Linked DNA regions of Homo sapiens: all the other regions are linked to region 2. Evidence: promoter capture Hi-C in 16 types of primary human blood cells and fetal thymus (Javierre and others, 2016). All regions are on one chromosome and are shown on one strand. Each heading gives the region's core, a stretch centred on a gene start or on the middle of the fragment in contact. The rest is flanking DNA. Distances are from core to core; before and after follow the strand shown.

Evidence for each region. The method cuts DNA at HindIII sites, captures the fragments that hold promoters and counts their contacts. A CHiCAGO score of 5 or more calls a contact.
Region 1: the fragment with the promoter of HECTD2 here is called in contact with the fragment with the promoter of ANKRD1 in region 2 in 1 of 17 cell types (M1 macrophages); the score reaches 6.3 in M1 macrophages.
Region 3: a fragment that was not itself captured here is called in contact with the fragment with the promoter of ANKRD1 in region 2 in 1 of 17 cell types (fetal thymus); the score reaches 6.1 in fetal thymus.
Region 4: a contact is called between a fragment that was not itself captured here and the fragment with the promoter of ANKRD1 in region 2, in 1 of 17 cell types (neutrophils). The highest score is 7.0, in neutrophils.

Annotation. Positions count from the first base shown.
Region 1 is chr10:91,408,106-91,412,950 of GRCh38, reverse strand. It overlaps HECTD2 (HECT domain E3 ubiquitin protein ligase 2), which reads right to left and starts at 2,607. Exons shown (of 21, transcript NM_182765.6): 1 at 2,375-2,607. The coding sequence starts at 2,512. The region is part of intron 3 of HECTD2-AS1 (HECTD2 antisense RNA 1); the gene reads left to right. RefSeq lists a silencer at 2,251-2,840 and an enhancer at 2,991-3,200. The HindIII fragment of the contact is 4,522 bases long and covers 1,760-4,845 here.
Region 2 is chr10:90,919,826-90,924,480 of GRCh38, reverse strand. ANKRD1 (ankyrin repeat domain 1) reads left to right here and starts at 3,394. Exons shown (of 9, transcript NM_014391.3): 1 at 3,394-3,480; 2 at 4,133-4,312. The coding sequence starts at 3,454. It also overlaps the pseudogene RNU6-740P. The HindIII fragment of the contact is 5,392 bases long and covers 1-3,922 here.
Region 3 is chr10:91,197,961-91,202,704 of GRCh38, reverse strand. It overlaps LOC124902480 (a long non-coding RNA gene), which reads left to right and starts at 4,227. Exons shown (of 3, transcript XR_007062240.1): 1 at 4,227-4,304. It also overlaps a transcript of PCGF5 not described here. The HindIII fragment of the contact is 729 bases long and covers 1,207-1,935 here.
Region 4 is chr10:91,271,860-91,276,300 of GRCh38, reverse strand. All of the region lies in intron 9 of PCGF5 (polycomb group ring finger 5), which reads right to left. Among named protein-coding and RNA genes, the nearest start is that of PCGF5, 53 kb to the right of the region's middle. The HindIII fragment of the contact is 8,912 bases long and covers 1-4,441 here.

The sequences.
Region 1 (4,845 bases), core at 1,358-3,857, 490 kb before region 2:
TACAGGAGGCTGAAAAACAACTCAAGAGGCCACAAGCTGTATTTCCCTGCCCACCTACCTCACACATCAAGACCTCCTCCCCCTCCCCACACATACCAAGGCCTTCCTAGCTGCTGTAAAAGTCAATCACCACCCCAGTTCTCCTGGATTTCTTATCCTTTGGATGGACTAAGGACCAAGCATAGATTTTCTACACTTAAGCTTTTCACTGCTATTAGCTCTGAATTCTAGCTTTGAAGTCTCTCTTTGACAAATACACACACACACACACACACACACACATTCTGCCACAGATCCTGTCATAAATTGTTTTTTTTTTTAAAAAATAAATAATCAATGGTACTGACTCTGAAAGACTTTATAAGGCACAAGCAAGGCTGAGGCAGGAGAATGGCTTGAACACGAGAGGCAGAGATTGCAGTGAGCCGAGATCAGGCTACTGCACTTCAGCCTGGCGACAGAGCAAGACTCCGTCTCAAAAAGAAAAAAAAAAAACCCTCAAGTTTTGTATATTTATCCTTATCCTCTTCTATTCCAACTCATACCTTTTCAAAGTTTAATTCAAGATTTAAATTTTTTTCTTGAATATATTCTTCTCTTTGTCTAGTAGTACAAGTCCATAATCCTCTATTTACAATTTCAAAGTCCTATAAATTCTTGAAACTGAAGTGTCTTTGCAACTCATTTGGTGGCAAAAACATGCACCTAATCTGAAATGACATGACGCTACTGACTTTTTCCCTTTAGCATGAACACATAATTTCATTACAGTTATTAAGATGGTTGATTAGAGAGAACTGGCTAGGACCTTACTGTGGGTATTAAATAATATATGATATATGTACCGAATTACCTTTCTAAAATCTGAAAAACTTGAAATCCCAAAGCAGACTGTAGACTTGTATCCACACTTGCAAATTCCAAAACGGCAATTTTTCAGTTATGAGATGAATAGGTTTTTGGGAGAGCGTTTGCTTGAGGACCTAAACCCACTCATTTAACTGTTTCTATAAGTACATACATTTACTGTTTTAAACAACCAACTTAGAAATGAACTGCTGGAATTCTGTGAGTTAAAGACTTCCTATATAAAATCTGAAAACCTAGGGTACCAGCAGCAGGAACCAGGTCTCCAAGCAGCTGGGTGACAAATTCCTTCAAAGCATTTTCTAGGGTAATCCCTAACCCCAGCTCCAATCTACCAATCAATTGTAGCTACGCTTTTAAACGTGTATCATTACTGTTCGCAATTTGCTGCATTGATTTAAAGAGCTTGTTTTAACAATTTCCAGTTATCAGGGCCCTCAGACATTTTTGAAAAACCTACCGAATCCGAAAATTATTCCTAACACCAATACAGTACTTAACGAAGAGTGAGCTATTTTAGTAAGTTCTTAGTCATTTAAGAGGGAGGTTTTAAGAAATGAACCGCAAGTAGGAATAAAGAAAATGTATAATGTTCACTAAACTTTTACTATTTTGTCACACACAGCTGCATGACAAGTCATGATCTTTAAATATATCAAAGCAAACTTTCAAAAAGTACTTAAATATTATGTCAAAATAAAAAATTGCAAAATCCGAGGTTTTTTTTTAAATTGTGCTTCAAATTAACCAGTCACAACCACCAGTAAAAATAGGGAAAGAGGGGGAGGGGGCTGTCCCATGACATCATCTGGCAATATGTAGTTTGAAGCCTGACAGCGCTCTCCAAATAACCCTTACGAAGATACAGCTGGGAAATCATCCCTGTCAAGCTTAGATAACTTGGGTTTAAATAAAAGGTTCAAAAAGCCTCCCCCCACCTGAGTCACATGTCTGTACCATATGAAAAATAAAACCATCACTGATGCATCTACCTCCCACTACACTGACAGCAACGGAAAGGTCACAATTAAGTGGAAACTCGCCGCAGAGCCTGTTTAATCTGAAGGGGGAAGGGAAAGAAAAGCGAAGAAAAGGACAAAAATCTGCGCGCCTCCAAGGCAGGCAGGCAGGCAGGCACCTCCGTGGAAAACCCACTCCCGCCTGCTGACACCTATGCTCATCCAACAGATCATGCCGACTCAAGATGCAGGTCATTCTCTTAGAGAAAGTGGGGGCCCAAGCCCCAGAAAATAACCCAAACATCCAGCGGAACCGACCACCCCCAACATTTCCCGAGGGTGGTAGGTGTACCTCGCGAAGTGTTCGGGGCTGTCCACGAGGCACAACTCTTTTATTTCTGCCCAAGGAAGGGCGGCCTGAGTGCGTCTCCCTGGAGTGCCAGGGCGTGCCCAGGGTAAACGCAGGCCTCCTGACGGCCCTCGCCCGGCCGCCGTCCCTCCCAACTCCCGCCGTCCGGGGCGCCAGACGGCCCCGGCCCACCACCTACCGCGGTCGCGCCGGCGCCCGCCGATACGATGGGCGGCAGCTTCTCGCGCTCTGACTCCTTCCCTTTCCTCTCCTCAGGCGCGGGCGCCGCCACCACCAGCGGAGTGGCGGGCGAGGGTACCCGAACCGCCTCACTCATGTCGGGCCGGGCGGCGGGAGCGCCAGGCGGCGGCGGCGGCCTCAGTGTTGCTGGGGCTGGCGCTGCTGCTGCCGCCGCGGCCGCGAGAGGGCTCTGGGCTGCCGCTTCTAGCCGCCGCTGCCGCCGCCACTCCGCCCCCGCCCGCGCCCGCGCCTTTGCGCGCGAGCCCGAGGCCGCCCCCGCGCGCGCCAGCCCCGCGGACGCGGCTCCCCACAGGTCCCACAGGTTTCTTGCTCTCGCCTCCCCCGCCCGCCCGGGGCTCGCGCGTCGCGGGTCGGGAGCGCCGGCGGTAGTCCCCCTCGTCAACCCCGAGGGCCCGGAGAGAAGGCGCCACGGTCGACGCCCGACCGCCATATTGTTTGCAGAGTGTCGCCCGAGATGACGAGGAGACCCCGCACCCGGGCCGCGCAGGAGAACCTGGACTAAGGACGGGCAGTCGGGGAGACAAGTCGAGCCCTGCAAAGGGTCGGACGGGGATAGAGTGTCCGAGTGGTACCAGTAGGGCAGGACGTAGGCACAGACTACCCTTCACGGACGGCCCTGGCCTGCGGCGCCGAGTCCCGCGGGCAAGCGCCCTCGGGGTCTGGGCTGGTGGCCTTTCGCCTTCTTCCAGGCGCCCACAAAGCTGTCCGCCTTGGGGCTTCTGCCTTCTTATCCTTGCCCGCCCTCCTGAGCCCAGGAGAGGCGGCCCGGAGCTTGCGCAGCCCGGGGAGACAGCCTTCCTGGCTCAGCAACCGACTCTTTTGTACACGCCTGGATGGCTTCAGCCTACACAGGAAAAGCCTGGAGGTGGGGAGGAGTGCGACGTGGTGGGCCCCCCCTTTCCCCTTCCCCCATAGGATTGGACGGCCAGTCCACACTTTCCATTCCTGTTCCTCTCGTCCCTCTTTGACTGCCAAATCCGCCTCTCCCTTCCCGTCCCCACGCGCCTACGTTTTGCTCTCTCCCCGCAACCCTTTGCTGTCTCCTATCCGTCCCTTCCTTGTTCCTTTCCGTTTATGTTAGAGATGTACATACCCAAACTCTGCTGCACAGTCCTCAATCAAATCATTACAAATAGGAGTAAAAACTTGAAAGCCGAAGAAGAGAGCTTTTAATTATGAAATTAAAATACCCCCCACCTCCACCACCAGGACACCTAGACAATTTCCTTTCCTTTCTTGTCGCCCCCTCCTTTTCCTTTTTCTCAGTCTACTGGAGCGGCGGGGACACCTGCTGATCTAGGAGAAAAGAGAGTAAGAATGCGCTGTATCGCCTGTTAAAAGCAAGGAATTTCGATATTCAGCTCTATCAGATTTTTTATCTGTGCCTTCATTATTTTATTGGAGGTTGAGTGAATTTTTAGATCAAGAGTACCTAAGTCCAAATATAAGAACCAAAAATATCTCTGAAACAAACCCAAATATGATTTCGGGGTATCTATTGTTTACATAATTTGGAGTTATTAGTATAACTAAATACTAGTTATGGTGCATCATGAGATAAGGTTGCATGTTTTCAAACCCACAATTTGTAACAAGTAGATCTGAAGCAAACAATGTTGCCTTCTAAATTTTGAATTCTGACTTTCATTTATAGAAAGGCTTTCTACTTTAATATAGTTGCTGTTGCCACCTATTTACTTGTTAATTAACAAAAGGTATAGAATAAGTGCCATATAGTCAGCAAAAAGTATTTCAGTGCTAATAGCCTTGGAGGGAAAATGATGTATGTCGGCATTACTTTGAAGCATCCTCCTCCTTTCTATTAATATTTTTCTAAATTCTTTTTCAGGATTTTCTTTCCTTAAAACTACTGAAATACTCATCCCATAGAGAGGAACATAACATTATTTTCTGCTTTTAGCAGGTCTGTATGCTGATCATGGATACAGGAACAACTCAAATGTTATTTTATAAAATGAAGCCTTTATTTTAGCTGCAATTTCAGATATTCTGTGCTAAGTCTAGGTTGATAGAACAAATACTAGAGGGAAAAGTATCCTCTTTCCTATTGTTTTCAACTAGATTTAGTAATTTGCTATAAAAATGTTTGGATGAGAAACCACTTGGATAACAGGCCTTCTGCTTTCTTTTTTCATGTGTGAGACTAAATAAAAGTGTGTCTGTACATGTAGTCACATTCAATAGAACAAACTGCTTAAATATTGGCAAAACAAGGCAAGTCAAAAATGTTAATTTCTGCTACTGCACCAGAGTAGATAACCCATTTCTTAACAAATTCTCTGATTAATTAGCTTGTGAGTTCCATGTAAAAAATGATAATTTGTTCATGTTTCCTTTGACTTCTTATTAAATAAATGTCCTCAATCCACCACCTCATCCCTCCCTCAT
Region 2 (4,655 bases), core at 2,145-4,644:
GAGAAAGTGGTTAAATAAGAAATGGTAGGTCCGTGCATGGAAATTCATGCAGTTGTTTCTAATAGCAAGATAGATTTGTTTGTGCAGATAGGAGACAATCTGTAAGACACGGTTACTGAGCGAAAAATAATCAAGTATCAAATCGACAGTAAGATCTGAACTAAATAACATTCTCTGTGCTATTTTTAACAATAATGTGTCTATTATATAGTTAAAATATAAGAATGAAAAGTTGGAGTAGAAGTAGAACGTCTGGAACTTCATATTTTATACAGAAAGATAAAACTGCCCTTGGACTTGGAGCTGAGCTATGGCACATGGATCTGGGTGGGGTCCAAGCGCCTCTTTTAATCCCTAGGTGACAGCAGTAATTGCTTTAGGTGCTACTTCTCTGCTTCTCACTTTCTCCAGCTATAACCATGGTCCTAATTCTAGTCACATGTCATTTCACCCATGGAAATGCATAAATCCTGAGGGGAGTGGGAAAAGGCTCATGGGGTGACACTGGAGAAGCTCAGGGATGCTTCCTTTACTCTTTCTGGTTGGAGATGGGTGATGCCAAGTTGCTTTATGATTGTAGAACCAACTAGGACCTTTATTGTTTTAATTCATCTTAGTAAGGATAGATTATGTCCAGATTGAGGCTATGATAAAGCCAAATACACAAATATAAGAATTTACACCACTGGGTGAACTTTTATGGGAAGGATGCTTCTGAAAAACAAATGACAGAAAACTCTCCGCCAGGGGAATTTTTTTCTCAATTTTGATGAATAAGAACGATTTGAAAATACAATGGTTGTTGTTTTTATCTTTTTAGAGAGCTAAAGGTGCCTAGAATCTCTTTTCAAAAAGCAGATTCTCTCATGTTTTTTTTCTTTATTTGTTGTCATATTCTTTTTACATCTTCTGACCACTTATCCTCAAGTTGTACCTCTCATGTTTTATAATGACAAGCTGGATCAACATGGGAAAAGGTTGAACTGGCAGTGATTTCACCAGCCCTGACATCCTTGCATCCACCAGCGTGCTCCTTTAAGTTCAGCCCATTCCATCAACTCATCTTCAAGTGTCATCCTCTGCAAAGTTTTCTTCAAGACTTCCTGGAGCCTCTCTATAGAATCAGCTAGGTTTCAAGGGATAATTAAATGCCTGGAGAAAGAAAAGGGCTTGGTAAGCCTCCCTGCCCACTTTCACTTGCATTCTTTGAGGTGATTGAAACAGTAAGGAGCCATTTAATCAGTTTTGGTTGCATCCTGAGTGGGTCTAGGTGAGACTTGCCCTAGGAAATCTTTTGGGCTCAATGATTGTCTGCTTCTGTTGGATGGAATCAGGACTCTTCAACCTAGCATTCACCAACTAGCTGTGCATCTGCAGCAAGTTACTTAATGTTTCTTTGCCTCAGCATCCTCTCTGTAAAATGAGAGCATTAGTCTTGCTCCAACTTCGAGGGCATGGACAGCTCTGGGATTTCATATCCAAGACCCTTAAACATCCCACAGTCCTTCCCCCAAACACTTCTCCTCCTAATACCTCCCTCAGTTTGGGTCAGGCCTGGAACAAAAAGGCATACGAAATGGTAGAAAAAGTGTCCATGACTACTTCTGACTTAGATGAAGAGACCAATGAAAATAGTAATGACTCTGTTTGCTTCAGCAGGACATATACTAAAATAGGAGCTATACAAAGAAGATTAGCATGGACTCTGTGCAAGAATGACACACAAATTTGTGAAACATTCCATATATTAAAAATAAATAAATAATAAAGAGAAAAGGAAAAAATTAAAAAGAAAATAGTGATAGCTGTGTCCATCTCAAAGAAAAGCCCAGGAGATTTCCTTTAATTAACCCCCTTTTAAGATAGAATATTAGGAGACCGGAACATATGATACAGGAGGTACTGGGAGGGTCCCTCTTTGTCAATGTTTTGTCTTGGGGTGGGGAGTCGATGTCTTCTCAAAGTTTCAGAAACACCATCCACTGACTGAGCATTCAAGGGGGAAGAGGAGAATGGCAGCCACATTTGTTGATTGGGTGAGTTTGGGGAGAAATAGACACACAAAGGTCAAACATAACTTCCTAATTAACACTTCCCTCCATTCACAATTCCCTTCTCCCATTCTTCTCTCCTTTCTTTTACTGAAAAAAACCCAGTTTTTCCTGAAACTATAAAAAGACCCCAGTATTTTTACATAATTTACACCTCAAAGATTAGAAACCAGAAATAGAGACCTTTTTCAACCCTTCCGGAAGCAAAGTGCATTATCCCTCCAGCCACGTGTCTCAAATCTTGATGCATCAGAATCATCTGGGTGCTTTGAAATTCAAGATGATTCCTACGAGTTACCATAAATCAACTCAGAATTCCCTGGAGTGGGGCCCAGGGATCTGTATTTCTGACAAGCTCCCACAGGTGATTCCTTTCCCCACAGCATTTGAGAACTTCAGCTCAATGACCTAATCAGAGTCCTGCCATTGCTAATAACTGGTCTCATTTTTTTCATATATATATATAGTATTTTTGGTAGAGATGGGATTTTGCCATGTTGCCCAGGCTAGTATTGAACTCCTAAGCTAAGCAATCTTCCTGTCTCTGCCTCCCAAAATGTTGGGATTACAGGTGTAAGCCACTGCACCCGGCTGATAGCTGGTTTCATTTACTCTATTTCTTGACCACTCTGATCCATTTTGAAGTAAAAATGCTCCAATTATTATGCTGTTTTAGAACACGGTAAGCATGTCATGTGCTAATTATGGCCAGTGACATCATAAAAGAAAAGTGCATTACTGAATGCTTTCAATTTCTTATAATGATGGTAAGGTGGCATGTCATGGGGCCTATTTAGCCCCAGACATCACTCCAAAGAATTCCAAACAGATATAGACAAGTGCCTTTAGGGCCCAGATCCCTTCCCCTCAGGCTGTTTACCCAGGGAATAGGATGTCCTGGGACAAGTTTCCCCTAAGTGAAGTGTTGATAAGTCTGCTTATCAGAAAGATATTACTGGGGGTGTGATATGTAGGGCATCTACATTTTCTTGATAGGTAGTCATATGAAAGCTGACAAAGAAAAAAAGGGCAGTGATGTGGTGCAATGTCAACAGACAGCTGTCCCCTGACTCTTGACAAATAGGATGACTTGCATTGCTGAGCGATGTGATCACCACCAAAGGAATGGCCCTCTCACATTTCTTCCTGATTCACATATTCAGCAGGGTTAGCTTGTCCTCCCCTCCCTCTTCAGCTTCCCAGACACTGAGTCTGGAATGAAAATTCACCTGCCTCTGAGTTGGCTCCTAATGGGGGTGGGAGTGTTACTTCGGTTCCCAGGTTGGAAGATTATCTCACCCGGCCCCAGCTATATAAGCTGACCGGTGTGGAGGGGCCCAGCAGGGCCAACTCCAGGGATTCCTTCCACGACAGAAAAACATACAAGACTCCTTCAGCCAACATGATGGTACTGAAAGTAGAGGAACTGGTATGTAAGATGCATTAATTTTATAAAATGAAAACTGGTTCATCTTGGTTTTTATTTGAAAATTGAAATGCCCTTTGCTTTCAGGTGTAATGCAAGGGAACTCTGAAAATGTCATATATGGAAAAAGGTTGATGTGATGAAACAAGTGAAATTGGAAAAAAAAAATGGAGCTACCAGTAATGAATTCTCTGCATATTTCCTATTTAATATCTTCTCCTTTGGTTTTATTACTACAGTGTGGAATCACGTGTAGTTATCAAAATGTCTTAGGGAAGAAGTGTTATTGAAAGAATGTAAGCCCGGAAACTTTACAATAAGGCGAAACTCATCAAAAGTACCTAAAGTTGAGTTTTAATTAAGCAGAGAAGGTTTTTGATTTTCCTAAAAGAAATGTGATTAAGCAGATTAAAAGTAGATTTAATCTGTCAACCTAACCCAAGCTTTGATTTAACCAAGAGAGTAGGACAAGCATCTGAAGGTAATTCTGGGACAATTGTAGCAGTGTGCATCGCAGCTTGAGATCTGAGAGTGCACTGCTCAAAGGTGGCTGTTCCCAGGGGAGAAGGACCAAGAGCCTCCTGCGGCATTGTCTGTGAAGAATGACCCAGGACGAGGCTGCTGCTTCTGACGCTGCCATCTTCTTCCCTCATAGGTCACTGGAAAGAAGAATGGCAATGGGGAGGCAGGGGAATTCCTTCCTGAGGATTTCAGAGATGGAGAGTATGAAGCTGCTGTTACTTTAGAGAAGCAGGAGGATCTGAAGACACTTCTAGCCCACCCTGTGACCCTGGGGGAGCAACAGTGGAAAAGCGAGAAACAACGAGAGGCAGAGGTGAGAGCCATCTGTGGAATCCACTAGTAGGATGTTGGGGCTGGGGTAGGGAATGGAAATGTCAGGGAAGGAGAAGAGAGAAACAAACCCAATCATTAAGATGTCTCTTTACCAGATTCTAACCCGTAAAGAGGCAACTTGTATGGAACAGGTTTTGGGAAATAACTCTTTGACAAGACTATGACCTCTGAATTCTGAATCAATGAATAAATGTGCTGTGACCATGTTTTGATTGAAAGATACACATGTCCAGTGAATTCCTGATGTTACACACCATGTAGTTAATCCCAAGCAACGGAGATCTCTTTTTCTCAATAACATGGTCTGTGGTCCATAGATCATT
Region 3 (4,744 bases), core at 322-2,821, 280 kb before region 2:
AATTAGTTAATAACCTCTATTTACTGAAACCAATTAAGTACAAGAAGGAAGTTTTCAAGGCTTCTAAGGAGTCAAATATAGTAACAACTTCTGGCTGTATATTATATTACAGTATCCCTCATTTAGACTCTTAATAATTAACAGTAACGATGACTACTATGCAATGACTACTCACTATGTGCCAAATACTGTGCTAAGAGCTTACAAATTTATCCTATTTAATCCTCACAACAATCCTGTTAACTACTTTGTATTATTTGCCTCATTTTTCAGAAGAATAAACTGAATCACAGGGAATTAAATTAACTCTCTCAAGGTCACAATGGTGGGTTTTACTGAAATCATTAGGTTCACAAAAATTAATCAGCTTAAAACAATCAGATCACAACGGTGGTGGATTCAAATCCAGGTTATTTTGCTTCAGAGTCTATAGGCTTAACCACCATACTACATCAAAAAAGACAGAAGAACCATAAAAACAGATACATCGACCATCATCATCATAGCACTTATACAGCACATTTTATACGAAGGCATGGTTCTAAGCAGTGAACATATAAAAACTTATTTATTTCTCACAATAATCCTAGGGGGTGAGTACAATTATTCTTCTCAATTTGGGAAAGAAGAAATTGAGGCAAACAGTGGTTACACCTGGTCACAATGCTAATAAAATGCAAGGCTTGGATATAATCCTGGACAGTGTAGCTCCCAAGTCCAGGACCCTCCCTTGATGCCACCCTGCTTCTTCTAACAATTTCAAAAGCATAGTGCCAGTAAACAGTCCTAACACTTCAGAAACTCTGAGGTTGGAAATCACCACATTAAAGCACAGAACCTTAACTAAATGTTCATCACTATGATCAAAAGTCATCAAGAACAGATTAAAAGGTTTTCATTCAGCCTTGTTAAGAAGGCAAAAAAGTAACACACTTAAACAAAATTTCATCCAAGATGGGTTTCTTAAAAAAAAAAAAAAAAGGTTTTCTGGAAAATGAACTCAATACAGAACAAATGAGGTGTTACAGTAGTGTTAAAAAATCTTTCTGCAGACATTGTTTTTGTTCTTGCTGCCTTGGGGTTTCTCAGAATTCCCTCAGGGGCTGTGGGTGGAGGGAGGAGGGGAGAAGATAGTTCTCCACTCCACCTTCAAACACATAACTCTGTTTACGTATTTTTTTTACACATTGGGCTTCCTGGTAAGCTTTCACTTTGATGGGACCTAAGCTCCTGTTTATGATTTGAATGAGTTCCCCAAATTTCATGTGCTGATAACTTAATCTTCAAATTCATACGTTGATGGCATTTAGAGGTGGGGCTTTGGGAGGTAATTAAGATTAGTAATGTCACTGGGGGGACCATGATAGGACTAGTGGCTTTACATGAAGAGAGACCTGAGCTGACACACTCAGCCCCTCACCATGTGATGCCCAGCTCAGAAGGTTGCAGAGGGTCTCCACCGGCAAGAAGGCCCTCACCAGATACCTCACCCTTGGATGTCCCAGCCTCCAGATACGTAAGCAATACATTTCTTTCCTTTATAAATTGCCCAGTCTCAGGTATTCAGCTGTAGCAACAGAAAACAAACTAAGACAGCTCCCATGAAAATGTGGTCTAAGTGGGCAGCTCTTCTCACTTTTATAAAACTTTCCCCATCACCTCCCTGGTGTCTCAGGAGTTCCACTTCACACTATTTTTCCATTTGCCTCTTGAATCTTGTGCTTGCCCAAGCTCTGACCATTCTCCCACCTGACCCTCCCCCTTTCCACTTCCCTCTGTCAACAGTAATCACGAACACAGCTAATGTTATCAACCTCCTACACAGCAAGCTCTAGGTTAATATTTTTACATCAATTACTTCATTGAATGCTCTCAACACCCTTATGAATTGGGTTCTATAATTGGCCCCACCGTATACAGGAAGAAACCAAAGCTTAATTTGCCCACTGTCCAATGACCACAAAGTGATGAATATAGGATAAACTAGATTGCCCACTAGAAAGGCCCCCAACTCTTCACCAGTACACAATCCTGCCTCTCAGCCTCTGCCAATTATGTTCAAATCTCCCACTGAGACTGTGTTCAAGACTCAATATCTTAAAAACAAAACAAAACAAACAGCACCTTCCCTTCTGGCACAGTCCCTTATAGCAGCACCTCAACAATGACAAATGCAATGCACAGCTTTCAATGCAATCTCATCCATACCTGTTGATATTAATGCTTATAAAATCTTCTCTTCTTCTTTCAAACATATATGCGCACTTCCCAGAAAGGGGCTACATCCCCTGTTCTTTCTATACCCTCACTCTCTCTTAACTAGATTAGTTGAACAATTTTGGGCACCGAGTAGGAAGATATTAATAATCAGCATAAAGAACCCTGGTCAGTAGTCAGGATACCAGAGTTCTGGTTCAGTTTCAGGCAATCCCCTATAGCAGACACTGTCACTGTCTCCTCCTCCCTCTTATCTCCTCCACGCTCATCTCTACATGCTGAAGGCAGCCTTCTTGAACACCTGTGGCTTTTATTCTGGCTCTGGGAGCAGGCTGGGCCCTCTCCCACAGTGAGGCAAAAATGCAGGGAAGTTAGCATCTCCAGGAAACAGCCCTCAGTCAAGGAGGATGGATAGTTGATGGGCAAGTAACCCAATTTCCCTGTCCTTTGGGTAGGATAGCCTGAAGCGTGTAGACTAGTTCCTAGAGTTCCTTAAACGGATTGAGCTCCAGTTGCCCACAGCAGTAATTCTCTTGAAACTATACCCTTTATTGCTTTCTTTTTCCTCCCTGTCCCACTTCTCTACTTTCCTGTTGATATTTCTTGGGAGAACCTCTCAACTAAACCACTTACTCTCAAATTCTTGTCTTGGGGTCTGTTTCTGGGGAAACCACACTAAAATTTATTCTCCTTTGTTTATTTACTCCACTTCCCTATCTGTCAAACAAGAGGGTTGCATAAAGGATTTTTATGGCCTCTTTGGACTCTAACATCCTAGGATTTCAATGAACTCAATCAAATTTCAGTATTAAACTAAAACTAGCCTTGAATGTTACTTCTTAACTAAAATACTGCATCATATTTTGGAGCCGTGGCTGAATTTCACGTACATTAATGTGGAAGATGCTGGGAAGCAGAGATCAGATCCCTCTTCAGAGAAGCCTTTGGGCTGCACTTGATGGGGATGTTGTTGGCCTCTTGCAGGCATGTCCTCAGCTGCAAAGATCCTCCTTGCCCAAGGTCACTTTCCCAAGGATGCAAGGACTGAGGGATGCTGGAGTATAAAGGCCTGGCCATCTTGGCCCAAGTCAAGACAACTCAGAGGAGTCATTCTAGTTCCAGAGCTCCTGCCATGCTGGCTCTACAGCTCAACTCCTTTTCTGCCCCCCTTGCTGCCTTCCCACCCTTCAAAGGGCATTCCCTAATAAACATCCTGGATACAAAACTACACCTGGGAGTCAGCTTCCCAGGGAACCCAACCTGTGACAAGTACATTTTCTACTTGTTTATTATGTCATAAAATTCACAGACTCTGGAACTTTGCTTGTGGAAGCAGGGATGATCCCTTGAATGCTGTAAGACCCAGAAAGTGGTAGAGACACAGAAGAAAAAACTAGGCTTTTAATAAAATGGGAGAGACAGATACAAACCAGCATGTATGTGATGCAGTTTCAGTTTCTGAACAAAAACAATAAATACATAAAAGGTCAGCATGGCCAGTGAAACTGAAAGCTAAGAACTCAGATGAGGCAATCACAGAGGGTGATGAAAGAGAAGAACATCTGAGAGAGGAGGAGAACAAGAATGGCCTGGCAAGAAAAGGAAGAAGACTAATACGAAACACACTCAGCCAAAGACCATGGGGTAGAAATAACCCATCTGAAGAAGGGCTCTTCATTGCACAAAACTACATCCAATCCTTAAGAGGTACTGCCCCGTGGTATGACAAGGCCAAAACGTCATCCTGGCAATTGCTGCTAATTAAACTCAGGATTGATTCAATGCTACTGAATAGGCCAGGGAGATTCCCATGGTGCTGCCACTAATCAGGGCCTTTACAGAAAACTCCCAAGAAGATCGAAGGACAGAGACAAGCTTGAACTCTGCAGCCCGTAGGCAGGTCTGCCTTCTAGAGAGAAAGCCAGTGATGCTGCTTTGCCAATGGTCATGCTGAAATAGTGGTTTGGGGTGACCTCCAGGAGAGTAGGGGTACTAGGGGTAGGTAAGGAGGGTGACTGAAATTTAAAACAAGGTGTCAGCAAAGGCATTAGTGAGAAGATGGCATCTGGGTAAAGACCACAAAACAGGTAAGGAAGTTGGTCTTATAGTTATCAAAAGGATGAGTGACTACACAGAGAGAAAGGAAAGTGTCCTAAGCAGGAACGATGCTGATGTCCAAGGTTCCCCCAGCAAGGGGGCCAGTGTGGTTGAGAATGAGCAGATGGGACTGAGGTCAGGGAGACAGGATGGGTCTCGCAGGCTCTTCTGGGCCACTGTAAGGACTGTGGGTTCAATTTAGAGAGACGGAAATCCAAGGAAACATAATTACATAAAATGACGTGATCTGACACTTCTCTTCCCCTTCTCTGGGTTTACTTTTCTCCACAGTATTTCTCATTGCCTGAAAAGTAAAAATGTTATATATTTATCTCTACCCATTAGAATGTAAGCTCTGTGAGGGCACGTATTTTTTGTCTGTTTTGTTCACTGATGTGGATTCACTTCCCCAATGTCTGGCACTTAGTAG
Region 4 (4,441 bases), core at 1,635-4,134, 350 kb before region 2:
TGCCTTTGATGTACTTTTTTCCTTAAAGAATGAATTATTTTTGTCAAAACTTGTTTTTAGTGTAGATTTGGAAAATACAGAATGGTATCAAGAAAAAAAGGAAAAGTATTTAAATCCTACCATCCAAAGATAACTACCATAATAATTTTAGTGTATATTCCTCTACTCATTTTATCTACATTCGTTTTTTTTTTTCAAAACTGGAATCATGCTAAACATATTATTTAGTTTCATTTAAATTTTTTATCTATTTAGCAATTCCACAAACCTATTTCCATACCATTTGGTACGGTGCTACATAATTTTTAACAGCTGTATATTATGCTGTTATAGAAATGAACTGTGAGTTATCAGTAAGTCTCCTTTTGCTGCACATTTGAGTTTAGTCCTTTTTTCCTTTGCTATTATAACTTAATCTTAACCCACTGATCTATTTCTTTTGCCCCAGGATAGATTCCTAAAAGCGGAACTGCTAGTTCAAACAGCATACATATTTTAAAGAGCTTTTTGATAAACACTTTTACACTGGTCTTCAAGAAGGTAGTTCTGGCTGGGCGCAGTGGCTCACGCCTGTAATCCCAGCACTTTGGGAGCCCGAGGCGGGCAGATCACGAGGTCAAGAGATCAAGAACATCCTGGCCAACACGGTGAAACCCCGCCTCTACTAAAAATACAAAAAAAAAAAAAAAAAAATTAGCCGGGCATGGTGGCGCATGCCTGTAATCCCAGCTACTAAGGAGGCTGAGGCAGGAGAATCACTTGAACCTGGGAGACGGAGGCTGCAATGAGCCAAGATCGCACCACTGCATTCCAGCCTGGCAACAGAGCAAGATTCCATCTCAAAAAAAAAAAAAATAAAATGTAGTTTTATTTTTCTACATTTTTAAAAGAAATTTGAATGCCCATTCCTCTATAGCCTCATCAATAATGAGTACTATCTTTCCCCACCTCTTAATTTGGCAATTTAATAAGCATAAGATAGTATTTTTTTTTCATTTCTTGACTGCTAAGAAAGTTAATCATTTTTATATGTTTATTAGCCCATTGTGTTTCCTTCTTGTGTATCTTGCCTGATCATGTCCTTTGCTCATTTTTATGAAAAGCTGAGCTTTTTCTTACATATTTGTATGAATTCTTTATGTATTAATAACATTAAACCTTTTTCTATCATACATTGCAAATATATTTTATGATATTTTTGCCATGTGCTTTTAATATTAATAGTCAATTCAATTTTTTTAGGTACAACGTGAAAGGCCATCCCCACTCTGAGATCAGTTCTTCAACTATATTTTCTTCTTGATCTTTTATAGTATCATTTAAAATATTTACCATTTTAAGCCATCATAAACCTATACTGATATAAAATGTGAGGTAGAATTGAATTCCCCACCCAGTCTCAGTATAATTAATTAAAAATAAGCCCTACTAGATCTGCACTGTCGTGCTCCAGCCCCACTGGCCTCCTTGCAATTCTCAAATAACCAGACATAATCAATTCTCAGGGCCTTTGCAGTGTGTTGCCTCAGGCTTCAGTGCTCTACCTCAGATATTCACATAGCAACGTCTCTCAATTTCTTTTGATCAACAATCCACCACCTCAAAGAGGGCTTCTCTTGGCTATCTTATTAAAACTATTCTATTTATCTATTTTACTTTTTCTTCTAACACTATAAATTTTAACCTGTTTATTTTTTGTCTGTTACCATCATTAGTGTAAGTTCCATGAAAGAAAAGATTTGTGCTCATTTTTACTTCTGTAACCTCGAAGGCCTAGAAGACTGCCCAATGCATAATACTCAATAGGTATTTGTTAAATTAATCATTTTACTGCATTAATTTGAAATACCCTCTTTACAGACTCATACATACTAGGGTCTGTTGCTGAGCTATTCTTTTTATTCATATGTCTATGTTTAAGGCAAGACCTTATTTTAATTACTTCAGCTTTAAAATATGTTTTAGTATGTGGTAGTACACATTCCCTCTCATTACTCTTTGTAAAAACATGACTGATCGAAGCACCTGCTGATATTTCCTTATGAGCTTTAGAATGACTGACTTTGTCAAGTTAAACAAAGATCTGGTAAAAGTGTGTTTGGAATTACATTTAACTTTATAATTTAATTGTGGGGTGAACTGGCATCTCTATAAAATGTAATGTACTATTACATATATATATACATACACAGATTGATTAATAAGGAGATGAGAAGAGAAAGAGAGGGGAAGAGGAGGCAAAAAATGTGGCAAAATGTTAATTGATGAATCTAGGTAATCATAAAGAATATTCCTTTGTATAATTATTTCAATTTTCTGTTGTTTTGAAAAATTTTTCAATAGGAAAACATCAGGACTTCACATTGAATTTTATCAAACACCTTTTCAGTATCTACTGATGATTTTTAACCTAGAGTATATATGTATAAAATATATAAAATGTATAAAATATTTTATATTATACACTATATAATATACACTATATTATACACTATTATAATACACTATATTAGTGTATTATTTATCATCTACTTATATTCAAAATCAGATTTGGTACCAGTTTTCTAATTGTGGGTTCTCTGTCAGTTTTTGCTATTAAGAATGGCAAAGTGGAAGGATTCCACCTTTTCTAATGATTAACAATAGATACAGCATAGGAATGATATATTCCTTGAAAATTAGAGAGAATTCAGAACATAAAACCATTTAGTTATCCTTTCAGGAAGTTAACGGTGCATCCTATTAGCTACAAGTTCAATTTCCTTACAGGACTATTAATGAAGACTATTAATGAGCCATTAATGAGGTGTTGAAGGAAGAAGAGGAAATTTGTATGGATTTAGAAATTTGGTCTCACTCCAGTTTTTCTCTAATACTTTGGATCATGGTTTAAGGACATCTTCATTTCTAAGGAAATACATAGGCATCAACACCAAGAGTAAAAGCAGAAAGACACATATTGCACAGGTTATAGCTACAGGCAGTGTTATCGTTACAATTCAGCATTCCCAAATCAGCCATGAGGCTAAAGCAGCTGAAACATCTATACACCTCGGATATACACAAATCTCACCAGCTCAGTTAAATTATTTACCCCAGACCCTTATCTGCATAGAGAGAAGAATGATCTTTCTCCCTCAGACTTGGCCTTCAGAGATGTTAAATTTACTTACTAGATTGCTGAAAAGCTAGGACTTAAAAGAGTATGTATCAAAAAGCACACATTTTAATGAAGGCACGAGAATTCCCATATCATAGCACTGACAAAAGGCTGAAGAAAATTCTAGATAAACTGCTAATTAAACATTTTCAATTAGCAATTTCAAGTGATTCTTTTAATGCTTAACATACATTCATTTGTCCCAACTCCAAAACTGTAACACTGGAGGTAAGTATGCCAGTTAAGTTTGTTATGTAATTACAATTATCCTTTCTCCCTGGCTCCAAGGAAATAAAGATGAAAACTCATTTAATTATTGAAATAAAAGAACGGTGGATTTTATTATTTTATTATTTATTTGTTTGTCTGAAACAGAGTCTTGCTCTGTCACCCAGGCTGGAATGCAGTGGCACAATCTCAGTTCACTGCAACCTCCATTTCCTGGGCTCAAGCGACCCTCCCGCCTCAACCTCCTTAGTAGCTGGGACTACAGGGGTGTGCCACCACACCCGGCTAATTTTTGTATTTTTTGTAGAGATAGGGTTTCACCATGTTGTCAAGGCTGGTCTCAAACTCCTGGACTCAAGAGATCTGCCCGCCTCAGTCTCCCAAAATGCTGAGATTACAGAGGTGAGCCACCGTGTCTGGCCTAAAAAAATAATTTTTTTTTGTCTTGCTATATTGCCCAGACTGGTCTCAAACTCCTGGCCTCAAGCAATCCTACATCCTCAGCCTCCCAAAGCACTGGGATTACAGGCATGAGCCACTATGCCTGGCCCAACAATGGATATTTTAAAGAAATGGTATGATTAATTCACAGGGTTAAGGCTGATCATCAATCACATCTGTACCCAACAATAATCTTTACTATACCCTTGTCTGTTTCCCAAATTTTTAAAATGTATCTTTATCAGATAAACTTTCCTCAGACACATGTTCAACTTTTCTTAGTGCATTACTAAATTAGCTCACTATCATTTTTAAAGAGGTAACTCAAGTAAAGTACTAGGGAAGGGCTAATAAGCAAGCTCATAATTAGAATCAGCTGTTGCTGTTATTTAGCTTCACCTAATTTGGCATTTTATATTTCACTTGTGGTTGAATGATTCACTGAAAAATAACATTCATACAAAGAAAGTAACGTCTCAAAATCCAATATGGAGTAGAGATTTCTCAAGGACTGAAAGTAGTAATTATTAAAAATTCCTGATTCATAAGTAATAGCCTTAACATTTCTAATTTTTTAGTTCAGTAAAATTAAATAGATAATTCAGGAGAACT